Linked DNA regions of Homo sapiens: regions 1 and 3 are each linked to region 2. The links are contacts of gene promoters, found by promoter capture Hi-C in blood cells and fetal thymus (Javierre and others, 2016). All regions are on one chromosome and are shown on one strand. The core of a region is centred on a gene start or on the middle of the fragment in contact, and the rest is flanking DNA. Distances in the headings are between cores, read along the strand shown.

Region 1 (3,416 bases), core at 72-2,571, 160 kb after region 2:
AAAGGTGGATAAGGATGAGTTACTCTGAAGAATATTTAAAGGGTAGGCAAAGAGGAGATCGTGAAGGTGCCTAAGAACAAGCAGTCAAGAGAAAAAGGAGATGAAGAAAGAGATGGCCTGGAAGCCCAGACGGTTTTAATCATGTAACATTCGTAGTTACAAAGTTCTATTGTGTGCCAGGCACTATGCTGGGTACTAGAGATGCAAATGAATAAGACATAGGGGCTTATAAAGGAATGGAGAAAAACAGAGATATGCAAACAGATCAACTAAAGTGTGTGTGTGTGGTATGTGAGTATGTGTGTGTGAGAGAGAGAAGAGAGAGAGAAAGAAAGAGAGAGAGCAATCTGTGATCCATGTAGGACAGAGGACCATTTCAAGAGAGTGCTGCAGAGCAGTCCCAGAGGATTTGGACTGAAAAGAAGCTACTGAATTGAAGGTCTAGGAGGTCATTGGTAATCTTGGCAAGAGAAGTCATCATAAAAGATAGTGACAAAGTAAGATGAAAAGTGACAAAGTAAGTGAAAAGATGACAGTGAAAAGTAAGATAGTGACAAAGTAATGTGGGTAAATAAAAATTATATTTTTATTGATGTTTTTCTGATTTTTTTGTCAGCGAATGAAAAGAGAGAGAGAATGGTGACCAGAGGAGGACAGTTCAATCTTTTTCAATAACATTCAGGAACTATCCAATATTTATTGAGTGTCTATTAGGTGCCAAGCACCTTAATAGGTCCTATGGATTTGAAATGCCGTCCCTGTCTTAGATCTCACGGTCTACTGGAGGACACAGAGAAGTAAGCAGGCAGTTGCAGTACAATGTAACACTGAGTGCTGTCTGTGTATGATGGTGAGTGGAGACTGCTGTGGGAGACTATAAAAGCTAACAGGGATAAGTAGTAGGTTTATGGAATGCCTTCTAGGGTAAGTGAAGCCTGAATTCAGGCCTTTAAGCTGAGGCCTGAATAATGAGCATGGGTGGGGAGCAGTTTCCAGGAAGGAGGTAGTGTCTGTGCAGAGGCTCAAAGGAAGAGAGACCATGTTGCAGAGGGAACTGAAATTAGTTCTGTCTGGCTGCAACTTAGAGTTGGGTACAGTGACAGGGGTTAACAAAGAGCCATTGAAGTTTTAAAGAAGAAGCATGATATATTCAGATTTACATTTTGTAAAGCTCTTCTACTTTATAAAATGGAAGATAGGAGACAGTCTGTTACTGTTTTTTAGACTCATGGTTTGATTATTAAACCCCTGATAGGAGTCATAGTCAAGGCAGGAAACAGATATCATATTCAATGTGTTTAAATGGGGAAAATTTAATGAAAGGACTCTTCACAGAGTTGACAGGGTAAGGGACCCACAGTCTGGTGAGAAGTTGAAAGGAAGAAGGGATAAATATCCTGATTTCTCTCACCTCCTACTTTCTGATCTCTTGGTGGTGCTTCCCATGATCCAAAACCAACCAAGGCCAGAGGGTAGAGGGGCTCGGAACATGCAGTTCATACAGGACAGACTCCTGGGGCACAAAGTAGGGCACTGAAAGGTAGAGAATGGTTGGAGGTAAGGGGATGGAAAGCCACTAGCACACAAAGGATACAGTCAGGGTTCACCATAGGAAGCTGAAACCACTCTGGATGTTTCAAAAAAAAAAAAAAAAAGGGATTTCATTCAGGCACTTCACTGCTTCTGAAATCTGTGGAAGGGCTGAAGGGGTTGAGGTCAGCAGACTGTCGAATTCAAAGTCACATGCTTTGTGGTAAACATTACTAGTGTTCACTAGTATCCGGTCCTCCTTGATTTCTGAGCATATGGGAGTTTACAGTTCCCAATTCCCTTGCGGTTAGTGGGGCCTTGTGATGAGGTCTAGCCAATAAAATGTGAGAAGTAACACGTCACTTCCAGGATGAAACAGTGAAAAGCCTTTGAGCAGTTCTCTAGACTACCTCTTCCCTGCCACAATAGTTATAGAGGAGACCTTGGGTTAAGATGTAGCAGCCACAAGATTGAAGCAGCCCAGATTTCTTAAGTCAGCACATGGAGAGCAACTGCCCACACCTGCAGGAAACATTTTGTCTGTGAGAAAGCAACTTTTATTATATGAAGCCACTGAGATTTTGGGGGATGCTTGTCACTACAGCATAAGTCTAGTTTATTCTGACTAACATACACTGCAGCTGGGATGGGAAGCTGACACTAGAACACTGCTACTGCTGCTGCCACCACCACTGGCTCACACCTGTCAAGACTATGAGGAGTCTGAATGCCACAGGCATGTCATCACACCTTGCTTGCAAGTGACACAGCAGTAAGAAGAGAGCCTCCATTTCACTTGCACCTGTGTTTTCATAAGGAAATTTATTTGGCAGGCCTTATTTGCACCCAAAAATTGAGTGGCAAAGGAGTCTGAGAAATGTAATTTTCAGCTTTCCAACTTCTTCAGATAGGATGGTGGAATGAATGTTGAGGCTAAGTATCTACTCCAGTACTTATAATTCAAGTTTCTTAAAGGCAGGGATGGTTTGCTGATCATCTTTGTATCTTTTCTAAATAGCCCAGTACCTAGTGGGTATTCAATACATGTTTCTTGAAATGACCTGAATTTATAGACCTATCCTAAGTGTGTTAACTCTCAGGTAAAACAACAGAGTGAATAGACATGTGCTAAGACTGCTTACTGCCAGAGGTGTGACAATTCTTACAGGTTTATTCAATTCCCTTGAAAAGCATTTACTACCCCTTAAAAATGCGTACACTCCCCCTTTACCTCTCCCCTACAAAAAGGATATTTAAGTCTCAACCCTCTGGTCTTTCTTTGAGTCTCATATTCGCAGGACTACTCTGTCCATGTGCACTGATAAATTTGTATGCCTTTTCTCCTGTTAATCTGTCTATTGTCAGTCATTTCAGCAAAGCTTCAGAAGGCAGAGGGGAAGCTTTCCCATCAATCTTATACCTACAATAATTTGGTAAGAAAGTAAGATATCTATGAAACCCATAGTTCTATAAGAGGTTGAAAAATGGAATGTTAGTAGGTTATATTTATGGCTGCATTCAGTAAGATATTGGAAACATAAGATGAACTCATGCAATAATTAGCAGGTTTGCAAGCATAAATTAAAAGGAATATAGAGAGTCCAGAAATTTGGAGCCTCAAGGGATGGGAAAAACTAACTGCTCTATACCTCAAAGAATAGGAAATAAGATTGAAAAAGCTCTTGAGCAACAAGGGCCCATTAAGACTCAGCCGTGAAACAAAGATTATATTTAGGGTGTGGTCTTCACATTTAAGTCTGATGTTCTCAAAGTAGCCTCCTTAAATTGAGAGGAAGAGAGGAGTGAAGAAGCAAAGAGATAATCAGGATTGAGAATTATCTCTAGGAAACCTCAGTGTTTCTGGCATATGGAACTGACTGGAAGCA
Region 2 (3,629 bases), core at 1,066-3,565:
CACGAGGCCCCAGTGACCAGACACAGATACACAGCAATACCAGAGCCCAAAGAGAATCAAAACACACACAACCAAAATGAAACCTTCTATACAGTGTAGCTAAAACACATTCTATCTGTTGAAAAGCCGGGACTCAATTAGCAATTGAGTCAATTAGCAGCAGCATCAGTAGCTTAGCCTGACCCACCATTTCTCTAGATTAGTGCAGATGCTATAAACACCAAAAAGGGGCCTGTTCTGAGGGCTTGGTCTGTCCTGGGTGTGCTAGGACCTTGTAAGAGACGGCAGAGTTAGATTCTGTCCACCCAAAGTCGACTTATTTAAGAAGCCGGCCGGGCGCGGTGGCTCACGCTTGTAATCCCAGCACTTTGGGAGGCCGAGGCGGGCGGATCATGAGGTCAGGTGATCGAGACCACGGTGAAACCCTGTCTCTACTAAAAATACAAAAAATTAGCCGGGGGTAGTGGCGGGTGCCTGTAGTCCCAGCTGCTCGGAGAGGCTGAGGCAGGAGAATGGCCTGAACCTGGGAGGCAGAGCTTGCAGTGAACCGAGATTGCACCACTGCACTCCAGCCTGGGCGACAGAGACTCTGTCTCAAAAAAAAAAAAAAAAAAAAATGCCACTTTGTATATGGCCAAGCAGACCCTCCTATAGTTTCCTGGCTAATCCTAAAGATCTCTCAAGAATAAGACAAGTAAATAAGAATAAAGCAAGAGGTGGGGTGTTGCTATGTTGCCCAGGCTGGTCTTGAAATCCTGGGCTCAAGCAATCCTCCCATCTTGGCTTCCCAAAGTGCTGAGATTATAGGCGTGAGCCTTGGTACCTGGCCAGGAAATAGAAATTTTTAAAAACTTACTGTATATGCATGAATTTTATGAAATTTCATGGCTCAGACATGTATCTGTATCAAATTTTTTAACTGTCTTAATTTCACTTCCTTTTCTGTGGTGTAGACAAAATAATAAATAAAAATTTTTCTAATTTATGTTGAATCACTATGAGAATTTATCGGTGATATGGTTGATATTATGTGGTTCCTACAGATAAGTTAACCCTCCTAAAAATAAATTTCCATTCCAGGTACTTAGATTTCTAGCACAAATGAGCTAGGAGGGGCCTCTAGATAAATTATTTTTGCCTTCGGTTATCTACTCAAGAAAGATGGAGATCAACTATTTTTAAAAGAGGGTCCCCTTTCAGCCCTGAGTGACTATTGTCTATATTTCAAATATGCAATATTAGAAGTATAAAGTTCTTTTTAAAGTAGGGAATATTGACAATTTAATCAAATATAACATTTCTCATTTTCCCTCTAATTCCCCGGAAGATAAACAAGAACATTTGTATAAATTAGACTCTGTACAATATCTTAACTGGAATGATGATCATTGTAATATTTCACACATGGCTAACCGTATATGAGAAAATGCATGCCTACATGGCTCTGTACATTATAGTCCTCAGCAAGAACACTTTATGAAGATTTGTCTTTCGAGTTCAATCCATTTATTTGTCTTACCAGTTATTGTCTCCCCAGGACCCAATAGAGTGCTTAGCACCCAGTGTGAGTGCTCAGAAAATATTGAATTTTTTTTTCTCATATAGCCTTTAGATTTCAGGGTAGCCCGTGAATTAACAATGGAAATTAAAATCAAATACGAGAAGGAAAAACTTGCAGGTCAGAAAATTGTACCTGATTTTGCTGAAGCAACCTGAAAAGGAAAGTTTGGAAAATTAGAACCACACAGAAAAACACAACTTGAACAAACGTAAAACATGAATAAAAGCGGTAATAAATTAATCACAACATTTTTACATCTAACGTGAGCAGTCTTTCAATCCATACAAGTATTTCTCCACACAAATCATTTCCCAGCACCCAAATCTACCACAAAACAACTCTAAATAGAATTTAGAGGCTGGAGGCAGATCCCATTACTATTTCATTTTTTTCCCCTTTGAATCTGCCTATTGAACTAAGTCAGTAGCTGCTGACAGATTTTTCAGAAATCTTTGTTCTTAAAATATAATGATAATCTTGTTTTCTTTCTCTAGTATATGGCATTAAATTTCAAACACGCAAACATATACAACCTCGGTACAAACCAAAGTATTCTGATTTCTATCTCCCTATTCCCCAACTCCTCAAAAAAAAAAGGAGAGAAAAATAATGTGTCTTTCTTTTTTCCCCTAAATAGTTGTGGGTAGTTGGAATGATGAACTCACCATTTTAAGACAGATAAGAATGAATCCAATCAAAGGCAAACATGTCTCTCGTCCACCAGCCATCCTGTTGGACATAGTACTCACATGGCACAAAACAAAGCAATCCGGGTCCTCTTTGGCCCCCAGGAGTATAACACCGTTGGTCGCTGGGATGTAGGGCTGTGATGCTGGGAAGAGACCCTAGGAAGTAGCTCCTCCCCTTCAGTGTGGAGCTGACCTGTAACCAGGGGCACTTGGAGACCGGCAGGGACAGGTATTGCAAAGACTGAAAAGAAGAAGAGAGTTGGAGAAAGCCACGGCAAGCGGGCCAAAAAGCTACTGTAACCTTGGTTTCAAAGCAACCTTCTTTTTAAAACAATTTCTGTCTAAATAAAAATTTTAGAAAGCTGCACAGAAAGTTGTTGATGTGGTAGAATAATTATTTTGAACTCGGGGATGCTGACCAGTTTTATTTTTCTTTTTCACCTTTATTTGTTGTTGTTCTTTTAGTTCAAAGTAAGTGATTGGTCCTACTGTCAGGAAGAATTTGTTGCAAAACTTCAACATGGAATATGAAAGGGCAGGAGCATGTCCCTGTACTGAGAAAGATAGTGAGAGGTCCCTGGTGAGCACATTAAATTTATCCATCCCCCGTACCACCCTGCAGTTCCAGTACCTTTTTTTTTTTTTCATTTTTTTAGAGACAGGGTCTTGCTATTTTGCCAAGCAGCCTCCAACTCCTGGGCTCAAGCAATCCTCCCACCTCTGCCTCCTGAGTAGCTGAGACTACAGGCATGCACCACTGCGCCTGGCTAGTTCCTTTTATTTCCGGAGCTGTCTTCCTAGTTCACACTCTTAATAATAATTAGCATTTAATTTAAGAATTACAATGTATAATTTTAACAATGAACAGATACATAAATGAATAATAAACATAATTAATTGGCTTATCTGAAATCACACAAGAATTAAATGATCAAACTAGAGTTAAAACGCATCAGTCTGATTTCTACTTTCAACCAAGATAGGATTACAAAAAAGGGAAAAGAACTGCATTTACCGTCCCTGACTTTAAGATTTACCATAAAGCTAAAATAAAATAGAGACCGGGTGGTATTGGCATGAAGATAGATAAATAGATCAATGGGACAGAGAGTCCAAAAATAAACCCACGCATATATAGATAATTGATTTTCAACAAAGATACAAGGCAATCCAAAGGAGAAAGAATAGACTTTTCAACAGATGGTGCTGGAACAACTGGATAACCATATGCAGAAAACATAAACTTTGGTTCATACCTCACACCACATTAAAAAATGAACTCAAAATGGATCATAGATCTAAATGTAGCACCTGAAACTATAAAATGTCCAGAAAAAAAAACACAAGAGAATATCTTTGTGACTTTGGGTTAGGCAAAG
Region 3 (3,637 bases), core at 279-2,778, 190 kb before region 2:
GCACTACCTCTTGAGGTAGCATACTTCATTTTGAACATCTGCATCGAAAAGTTCTCTCTCATACTGAGGTAAAAACAAAATCGATCTTCTAAAGCAAACATCACAGACTAAATGCTGGAAAATAATGTTTTTTAATACAGTAAAACAAAAAAACTGAATTAGCCACTAACATTTAAAAATCAGATTTCATATAAAACTCAGCACTTCCAGCTTCTCTTTAAAAAACAGGAAGATGTGGACATAACGGATTTTCATTCCTGGCTGGCAACAATTAGTTGGAGTTGGGTAGCAGTTGCCCCCTTCACACTGGACATTATCTCTAAGTTCACCACAATTCCCACACTTATGTAGTTAGGAAAACTTTTTTTTTTTTTTTTTTGAGATGCAGTCTTGCTCTGTCGCCAGGCTGGAGCGCAGTGGCGTGATCTCAGCTCACTGCAACCTCCACCTCCTGGGTTCAAGCGATTCTCCTGCCTCAGCCTCCTGAGTAGCTGGGATTACAAGCGTGCGCCACCACACCCGGCTAATTTTTGTATTTTTAGTAGATACGGGGTTTCACCAGGAAGACTTCTGAAGAGGTAATTGAGTTTGGGACCTAGTCATTGATCTTGGGTCAAGGGCATATGGAACCAGACTAATCCTCTATCACAGACTAGCCCTTCATACAATGATATACAGAGGATATCACTGAAAGAAAATTCCTTAAAAGGGATTTTAAGGAAAACAAAGGAAAAGAAACAAAGGAAAAATTCTAGGGATTCAATAATGCATCTATATTTTACCTTAGTTATGGTAAAAAGACGTAAAACATACCTATCATTCAGCTCTTGAGCAATTGCTAAGTGCTTCAGATGATAATCAATGGCCTTTTCATAGTCTTGAAGTAAAGTATATGTATTTCCAAGACTGTAACAAGACTGTGCTTCTACAGCTCGGTCTTTAAGCTGTCGGGCCAACAGTAGTGTCTTCCTACAAGAAGAAATTAATTCTTATATAATGATCATTCTCAGTTTGGGCTTTAAGAATCACAAAACAAAACTCTCATTTTTCCTCTCTGCTGCTTTCTGCTGTCTTTAAATCTCTGAGAGCCTAATATTCATATCCCGTACTTTCTCCATTACTTTTAGACAAAATGAAAAGACGTTTTTGAAACACAGAAAGAAGATTCAAGACTTTTAGAATAAATTTGAGAATCCTAACAATTCATCAAAGTAAAGGAGTATTGAAACATAAAATCAAGAGGTTCTAGAGATTAACATAATATCTTTAACATTTAAAAAAACTTTCCCTTTAGTATTGGCAATAGCTAAAAGAGGCTTTTTTCCACATGACATCTGTTTTCAATCATACCGTCACCTTTGCATTGTCAAAATTTAAAATATTTAGGTAAAATTCTTATGTGTAGGCTATTAGTCACCACTTAGGTAAAATTCTTATGTATCGGGCATTAGTCACCAACTCATGAAAAATACTGAATACTACATCCAAACATTACCCAAATTCTACCTGTGGTATTGCCAGTGAGAAGCTAGCGTAGCAGTTAAGAGCATAGATCTTGGAGCTAGACTGGGTTTAAATCCCAACTTTGCCAATTACTAAGCTAAGGGCAAAGTCACTCAATCTCTCTGTATACCAGTCTCTTCTTATATAAAATGGGGGAAATATCTCGAAGGATTTTTGTGAGGATTAAATTAATATGTATAAAGTGCTTAGAATAGCATCTTGTGCATAGTAGTTGCTGTATAAATGTTAATGTGTTATTATCAGTGCTTAAACCTATAGATGCTTTTGGATTCAGTAATTTAAATGACCCTCCCATTATTTCTGTCAAATAGTATAATTACTTCATATCACTTATAACTATATGACAAATTACTATGCGGTAACGTGATAGCTTTTTTTAAGCAAACAAATCTAAAGTTACATATTTAATGATGATACCTTCAAATCTGTCACCTTGGGAGGCTACCTACTTATTCTAATGTTGCCTGTCTTTTCAAATATTTTTGAAAGACTTTTGGAATTGCTTTCAGATCCTGTGGCATAATGCTTTCTGGCATACCATTATTCTTTGATGGTACAGTTGATTTGTAAATGATCAGAAATCTTTCTGGAACCAAATTCAATTACTAACATAGGTTTACCAAACTACTGCTTTGTATCCGGAAGGATATGGATCTACATTGTTAGCCTTCTTGTTTGGCCCTGATAACAATTCCAGGCTGGGTGTGGTGGTTCACGCCTGTAATCCCAGCACTTTGGGAGGCTGAGGTGGGCGGATCACTTGAGGTCAGGAGTCCCAGACTAGCCTGGCCAACATGGCGAAACCCCGTCTCTACTAAAAATACAAAAATTAGCTGGGCGTGGTGGCAGACACCTGTAATCCCAGCTGCTCAGAAGCTGAGGCAGGAGAATCGCTTGAACCGGGGAGGCCGAGGTTGCAGTGCACCAAGATTGTGCCATTGCACTCCAGCCTGGGCGACAAGAGCAAAACTCCGTATTTAAAAAAAAAAAAAAAAAAAAAATCTAAAGAAGAGTTCTAAAAATATTTCTAACCAACGACTTGGAATATATATAAAGTTCTGAGTTCTAGCCTGCTTATTGGGAGGAAAAAAACTAAGTTTCATTACTTTATATTCATGCTTCTTTAGTCAAATAGCCACTATCCATTTTATAATAGAACCTTTCAGTATTTAACACAGATACACCATTTAATAATTAAGACTTCTCTATATCCCTTGGCTTTAAATATAGGAAATTTTTATATTTAAAATCAAAATATATACTCCTTCACATAGTACACAGTGATATATTTTATTTGGGAGGCTATTTCATATCTAACTAACCTAACCAACAAATATTAACCATTAGTTGATGTTTAAAGCAAAGTGGAATGCTATTTAATTTTTTTAGATAGGCCTAAAACAATTTTACCTTTTTTATGAAGATGACAAATTATCCAGAACTGTCTCATATTGGCTTCTTTAACAAAATACAAATCAATCACTGTGTCTTCGGTTTAGTCAAACTGCCTTCTACCCAAAATCTGTAAGAGGCTTCAATCCCCACTAACTAGGGAAAACTCAATCTAGAAAGCACAGATCAGGCAACTTGAAGCTGTCTAAACTTTCTATCATCTATGTCTCAAATCTACTGATAAGAGAGATCCTGCCACAGAAGAAGCTGGGATTGTAAATGCTTCAGGTAAGTGAATGGGGGACTCAGCTTACAGTGACAGTCAAATATAGGCAGAAAGAGGGTAAAGGGAGAACTGCTCAATAAGAGGGTGGGAAGGTAGAGAAAAAAATTCAGTGATCACTGGTATAGACTATAAATATTTTTGTTACAAGGCTTTCTTTTGGCCTCTCTTCTAACCCATAACTGAGTGAAATAAAGCATATACACAATATACACCACATATGCTAAACAGGTTTAAAAGATATTAAAGGTTGAAAACTTCATTTAAAAACAATTACTTTTAAAGATAAAAACCAATATTATAAAGGGGTCATACTGCTGCTATTAAATCTTATGTACAATAATATTTATTGAGCACTGTGTACCAGATACTGTGTTTAGTATATTATTTCATTCAATCCTCACAGCATTCCCCAAAATGAAGTATTGATATATTCTG

Evidence for each region. Contacts are between HindIII fragments. The CHiCAGO score rates a contact against its expected background, and 5 or more counts as called.
Region 1: a contact is called between a fragment that was not itself captured here and the fragment with the promoter of FNDC7 in region 2, in 1 of 17 cell types (activated CD4 T cells). The highest score is 5.6, in activated CD4 T cells.
Region 3: a fragment that was not itself captured here is called in contact with the fragment with the promoter of FNDC7 in region 2 in 1 of 17 cell types (naive CD4 T cells); the score reaches 5.2 in naive CD4 T cells.

Annotation. Positions count from the first base shown.
Region 1 is chr1:108,555,067-108,558,482 of GRCh38, reverse strand. No RefSeq gene overlaps it. Among named protein-coding and RNA genes, the nearest start is that of EEIG2, 3.3 kb to the left of the region's middle. The HindIII fragment of the contact is 3,181 bases long and covers 1-2,911 here.
Region 2 is chr1:108,711,594-108,715,222 of GRCh38, reverse strand. FNDC7 (fibronectin type III domain containing 7) reads right to left here and starts at 2,315. Exons shown (of 13, transcript NM_001144937.3): 1 at 2,227-2,315; 2 at 1,694-1,712. The coding sequence starts at 2,289. The HindIII fragment of the contact is 11,369 bases long and covers 1-3,629 here.
Region 3 is chr1:108,899,122-108,902,758 of GRCh38, reverse strand. GPSM2 (G protein signaling modulator 2) reads right to left here. Exons shown (of 15, transcript NM_013296.5): 8 at 814-969. Among named protein-coding and RNA genes, the nearest start is that of GPSM2, 24 kb to the right of the region's middle. The HindIII fragment of the contact is 5,386 bases long and covers 1-3,637 here.